Linked DNA regions of Homo sapiens: region 1 is linked to region 2. The links are contacts of gene promoters, found by promoter capture Hi-C in blood cells and fetal thymus (Javierre and others, 2016). All regions are on one chromosome and are shown on one strand. Each heading gives the region's core, a stretch centred on a gene start or on the middle of the fragment in contact. The rest is flanking DNA. Distances are from core to core; before and after follow the strand shown.

What was found. The method cuts DNA at HindIII sites, captures the fragments that hold promoters and counts their contacts. A CHiCAGO score of 5 or more calls a contact.
Region 1: a fragment that was not itself captured here is called in contact with the fragment with the promoter of AASDH in region 2 in 2 of 17 cell types (non-activated CD4 T cells and total CD8 T cells); the score reaches 7.4 in non-activated CD4 T cells.

The regions. Positions count from the first base shown.
Region 1 is chr4:51,838,190-51,841,159 of GRCh38, forward strand. It overlaps a transcript of DCUN1D4 not described here. Among named protein-coding and RNA genes, the nearest start is that of DCUN1D4, 3.5 kb to the right of the region's middle. The HindIII fragment of the contact is 1,059 bases long and covers 1,174-2,232 here.
Region 2 is chr4:56,385,550-56,388,748 of GRCh38, forward strand. AASDH (aminoadipate-semialdehyde dehydrogenase) reads right to left here and starts at 1,942. Exons shown (of 15, transcript NM_181806.4): 1 at 1,813-1,942. RefSeq lists enhancers at 1,360-1,867, 1,837-2,206, 1,868-2,374, 2,237-2,286. The HindIII fragment of the contact is 3,410 bases long and covers 652-3,199 here.

The DNA.
Region 1 (2,970 bases), core at 453-2,952, 4.5 Mb before region 2:
GCAGAGCTTCATTAGACACTCTGAATAAATAATCTCATTTGCTGTGGGGATAAGGTCAAAAGGGTAAAATAAATAAGAATTTAGTAACCTGGATGTAATCCTTCTGACCCATACTTTTCATTATATAGATCTATAAAAGGAGCCTGAGTGGCTAGATGTTCATCCCTAAAAAGAGGCCTGGTTTCACTTTATTTATTTATTTATTTATTTGAGGCAGGGTCTCATTCTGTCACCAAGGCTGGAGTGCAGTGGCGTGATCTCAGCTCACTGCAGCCTCCACCCATAGGGCTCAAGGGATCCTCCCACCTCAGCCACCTGAGTAGCTAGGATTACAGGCAGCTGCCACCACACCCAGATAATTTTGCATTTTTTTGTAGAGATAGGGTCTCCCTGTGTTGGCCCAGACTGGTATCAAACTCTTGGGCTCAAGTGATCCACCCACCTCAGCCTCCGAAAGTGCTGGGGTTTCAGGCATGAGCCACCATGCCCAGCCTGATTTCACTATCTTTTGAGAGCATGTTAACAACCATATTATTGTATCCTTATAAATAATCTCTGAGGTATATAGGGGCATATATTAACCTGATTAAAAAGAGAAGGAACTGGCCAGGTGCGGTGGCTCATGCCTGTAATCTCAGCACTTTGGGAACTGAGGCGGGCAGATCACCTGAGGTCAGGAGTTTGAGACCATCCTGGCCAACATGGCAAAACCCCGTCTCTACTAAAAACACAACAATTAGTCGGGTGTGGTGGCGTGTGCCTGTAATCCCAGCTACTTGAGAGGCTGAGGCAGGAGAATCACTTGAACCCAGGAGGCAGAGGTTGCCGTGAATGGAGATCCCACCACTGCACTCCAGCCTGGGCGACAGAGTGAGACTCCGTCTCAAAAGAGACAGAGAGAGAGAGAGAAAAGGAAGGAAGAAGGGAAGGAGAGAAGGAGGGAATGAGGGAGGGAAGGAAGGAAGGAAGGAAGGAGAAGGAAGGAAGGAAGAAAGGAGAAGGAAGGAAGGAAGGAAGGAAGGAGGGAAGGAAAGAAAGAAAGAAAGAAAAGAAGGAAAGGAAGAAAGAAAGAAAGAAACTAAAGCCCAACACAGGAATATTAAAAACATGGAGTCTGGCTACTTAGGGGCACGTTTACTTATTAGCTGGGTGGCAAGTTACCGAAGCTCTTGAAGCTTCAGTTAACTTACCTGTAGATTGGGGATACTATTAGTTATTAGTACTCCACTGTGTTGTTGTGAAGTTAAGTAGATTAGTTTACCAGTACAGTACTATTAGAGTAGTGCCCGTCACATAGGAAGCATTAAGAAAGAAGTTGTTATCACTTGGGACAGCAAATTCAGTTGGTCATATTTGGAGAAAGAAAACTATCCTGCCCTCTATGGATAAATTCTCCTTTCGGAGGGGGTTTATTTTCATTTCCAAATACTAGAAACCCACCTAGCCTGACATTTTATTACTAAAGGAGTTCTGCCAACTCTCTCACTGTAATCTAAGGCCAAATTAATTCCTCTCTGTCCTGTGTTCTTTCTTATTCTCTTTAAATCTTACCAGGGACACATTTATCTGTCTGTGCAGGCCCAACTTATTTTCAGTCTCAAGAACTATGCTATTCTTCCTCCTACTCCCAATCCCAACACATGCAGGAAAAGCATGCTACAGTGGGCTTAGCAGAATTTAGGGGAAAGCGTAACATTTGATTGAAGAGCTCTGCTGTTTTTTTTCTCTTACTAGACTTCTCCATATCACATTCTAATCTAGGCTTAGGGCATTTCAAAATATATCTGATTAAAATTAATATTGTATGACTAATAAAATAGAAAAATTCCAATTAAATTAGGTATCATTAACATGGAGTAACTTGCTTCAATATTACCTTAAAGCAGTAACTGGGTGAAATGAAATGGCATAAAGACTGCATCTCCAAATATCTCTACCCATCACAGTCCCAAGATATTCAATTATTAATTTTTTTCTCCAGGGATTCAAATATAAATGTACAGAAGTATAACATTATTATCTCAGTAAACCTCTCCATGGGGATCATGTTCTTTGGGAATACTACAAATGAGAAAAAAAAAAGTGAAGTATTGATTTACATATTGAAAAAAATCCTGAATGAAATACATAAAAAAGAAGGCAACATTTCAACCATGAAGCAGACTTGTATTAGATTGGCATAGTAACTTTCAGATGGGAAGGGAGAGTAGTTTACCTATCTTTGGAATTTGAAGCTTTGATATTAGACAGTGTGGTACAGGGGATAGAGTTGAGAAACCTGAATTTAAGCCCTGTTTTGTTATCAACTAGCCAAGTGACTCAGATTAAACATTTAACTCCTTTGGATGTCAAGTCTCTTATTTTTAAAATGAAGATGTTGGATTTGATAATCACCAAGGTTCCTATCCAGATCTAAAATTTCATGTACGGTAAACATTCATTTTAAGGGGTATGGTTAACCAGTGCCTACCACAATATTTGAAAGCATTGTACTAGGTGCTAGGCAAGTAAAAAGATAACTATAACAAGTTTCCTGATATCAGAGGTTTATATGGTGTGGATTATTTAAATGACCAGGTAATATTTGCAGAGCATTATGTAGTCATTTTATTATACTTTGTAAAACGTGGGGGCAGTGAGGGTCAGCCGACTAGGAATGAGCTTTGCCTCTCAATCCTTAGGCTATAGCTGACTCTTTATAAAGATCTGGGTAAATTACCTCTAAGTCTGTTTTCTACTTGAAAATAATCATACTGACTCAACTGAAAGCAATGTTGAGAAATAACAGAGGTTGTACATTCTATAAATTTTTATGGACACCATGCATATGCCAGGCCAGTGTTGGGAGCTGGGGCAAAGCAGCCGACCCATCCTTCATCTAGCTTAACTCTTATACACATTATTATAAAGTATGCTGCAAATAAATTAATAGAGCAAATGACTAGCTATAATTAATTGTGGGCTTATTGT
Region 2 (3,199 bases), core at 692-3,191:
TTTTCCATATTTTAAAGCAATTAAGACTTACCAAGTAGCCTGCTTCAGTAAAGTTTTTGTTTGTTTTTGTGACAGTCTCGCTCTGTTCCCCAGGCTGGAATGCAATGGCGTGATCTCGGCTCACTGCAACCTCTGCCTCCCAGATTCAAGCGATTCTCCCACCTCAAGCTCCCGAGTAGCTGGGATTACAAGTGCGCGCTACCATGTCCAACTAATTTTTGTTTTTGTTATTTTTTTTTAAGTAGACACAGGGTTTCTCCATGTTGGCCAGGTTGGTTTTGAACTCCTGACCTAAGTGATCCACCTACCTTGGCCTCCCAAAATGTTAGGATTACAGGCGGAGCCACCGCGCCCGGCCGAGTCAAGTTTTCTTTTCTTTCTTTTTTTTTTTTTAATTTATTCACACCTATTTGAATTGATTTCCTGACTCAAAATTTTCATTTATATCAACTAATTAACATCAATTAGGAAAAAGAAATCCTAAAGAGAGTAAAATGAACCAATAACTGCCAAGACCCATAAGTTTGAAAATGCTGTGATTTCTAAATATACAGTTTAAACATATAAGGCAACTTTAGTACTTACATTATTTATTTTTAGTAGGCATTTCTATAAATATTAGCTCTTTTTAATGCACAAGATACAATTTTAAGCTTTCCTCAGACATACAATGATCATTATGTAAATATAAGGGAGGCTTTCTGCAGCAGGCGCTTAAATTATGAGGAATGAGTTCATTTCGCAACATACAGGTAGCGCAGAAGGGTACCTACACATCTATACGATAATTAAGATGTTTCTTTCCATTTTCCCAATGGTTGCTACAGACATTTAAGGTAAAATCCATTCTTCTTGTCTCAGGTTTTCATTTTCATTCATTGAATCACAAATAACATTCTCTGCAGTAGAGAATACTAAACTTATTAATGCCCAAATGTTTGAGACCTTAAAAAGGAAAAAAAGGCCGGGCGCGGTGGCTCACGCCTGTAATCCCAGCACTTTGGGAGGCCGAGGCGGGTGGATCATGAGGTCAGGAGATCGAGACCATCCTGGCTAACAAGGTGAAACCCCGTCTCTACTAAAAATACAAAAAATTAGCCGGGCGCGGTGGCGGGCGCCTGTAGTCCCAGCTACTCGGGAGGCTGAGGCAGGAGAATGGCGTCAACCCGGGAAGCGGAGCTTGCAGTGAGCCGAGATTGCGCCACTGCAGTCCGCAGTCCGGCCTGGGCGACAGAGCGAGACTCCGTCTCAAAAAAAAAAAAAAAAAAAAAAAGGAAAAAAAAAAGCAAACTCTGGTAAGCAGATTTTACATGTAAAAGGAATAAATTTACTTGCTACAACTGTAGAAGCTGCTATTTAGTCAACAAAGATCTTAAGAGTGTCAGCAAATTCAATTGCTATGGGGCCTCTCTCTAGGCCACTGGCTGTTTTAAAAATGGATAAATAATCTAGAAACTTTATTTTCCCAATTCCCCGGCTTCTAAATTTACGGTATGCAACGAGTAACAATGCAATTTACAGCTTCCTAAACATTTCTTCATTGCTCTTCGAAACCACTCTAGGGGGTAGCTGAGCGCGGAGCACACTTATTTCCATTTGAATGGAGGGGCGGAGGCTAGTGACGCAGGAGTGTACACACAGGTCAGGGTTAGTCTGCACCACACCAGCACGCCAGACCCCGATGTATCAAATCCGAGGTCAGGCAGTGGTCCTGAAGCTGAGCAAATGTATGTGGAAGCAGGCTCAGGCCTAGCGGCACTTCGCCTCCTTCACACAGACCCCCGCCGGACACCGCGCCCTGCCGCGACTCACTTAGCAAGTCTCGCGGATTAGGTTTGATCGCATTCGGCCCTTTCCCGGATAGCTCGTCGCGGATACTTCTCACAGCGAAGCAGCAGCTCCCAGAAGCCGTAAAGCTATCCCAGAGCGAGGCACCATACGTAAATCTTCCGCGTCGCTACGTGACGTCAGTGCGAGCGACCCCGGGCCGGCTGCGTGGAGCTGGCGCTGCCTCTCCTGAAGCCGAGGCGCTAACTTGAGTGAAGAGGTCTATAGGCTTTTTCACTTTTGGTTATCTGCTCAGGCGCTCCTTGGGGTCGCGCATGGTCTCGGACAGGGTTTGCAAGGACTTCGGAGCTAACCAGTTTGGAGCCATAACCCTTTCGTACTTGCCAAAAAACTCTGGGCAAGACTCTTGAATTTTGAGCCGCAGTATTCTCGTTCATAAGGTGAGAATAAAAACATCACCTAGGGTTGATGTGAAGAGAGATGAAATCATTGTGAAATAGGAGAGTTATTGCTTTCAACCAATGACATTTTCTGGAAACGTGCTGGAGATATGGCTGCAGCAGTGACGCCTGCAAACGACGTTCCTGTCATCATGATGCTGACATTTTAATTGGGAAGCAGATTGAAACGATAACTAAGGAATTTGACAGGAGCATTTAGTAGGACCTGTAAAGAAATTAAAGCAGGTCCGAGGTGGAGTTTTGTAAACTATATGCCTGAATAGAACTTTCTGTTTCCAAGGGAATTGTTACAGTTGGAGACATGTCAATTATTACAATAAGCGTCAAGGGCAATAACAGAGGTGTTTTAAAGCTACTGTCTGGTGGCAGAATAATCGGGATTTTTTTGTTTGGGGGGTTTTAGCCGGGGGAGGGACTGCGAAGACAGCTCTGCATCAAAACAGTACGTGAGAAAAAAGCATAGGACGCTCTCGCAGCCGTAGTTGTTGGTGACAAGAAACTGTGCTTCTAATCTAAGCAAAAAATATCTCCACATGCCAACTATACTTTTCCAAGATGTACCATGGACTACTCAAACTAACACAGCCTTATTTATGTATTTAGGTTGGAAGTGGGCAAAAGTGTATCTTGTCTATGTTTCTATGTTTCTACGTTGGGATGACACCATCATCCACCCAGCCAGACAGTTATCAACCTTCCCACTTTCTTAACCTCTTACATCCGATTAGACCCTATGTCCTCTAGTTCTCAGTCTTGAGACCAGCACCCAGCTGGCTACATCAGAATTGCCGGTGGTGATGTTTTAGAAGATTCCAAATTCCTGGACTCCATCCCCGGAGGTTCATCCCCTAGTTTTCTAGTGAGGGGCCTAGAACCTGCGTTTTTTAAGTGTCATGTTCATCGCCATTACTGCTACTTTAGTTCAGGTCTTCTTGGTCAGCTTTTTCCTA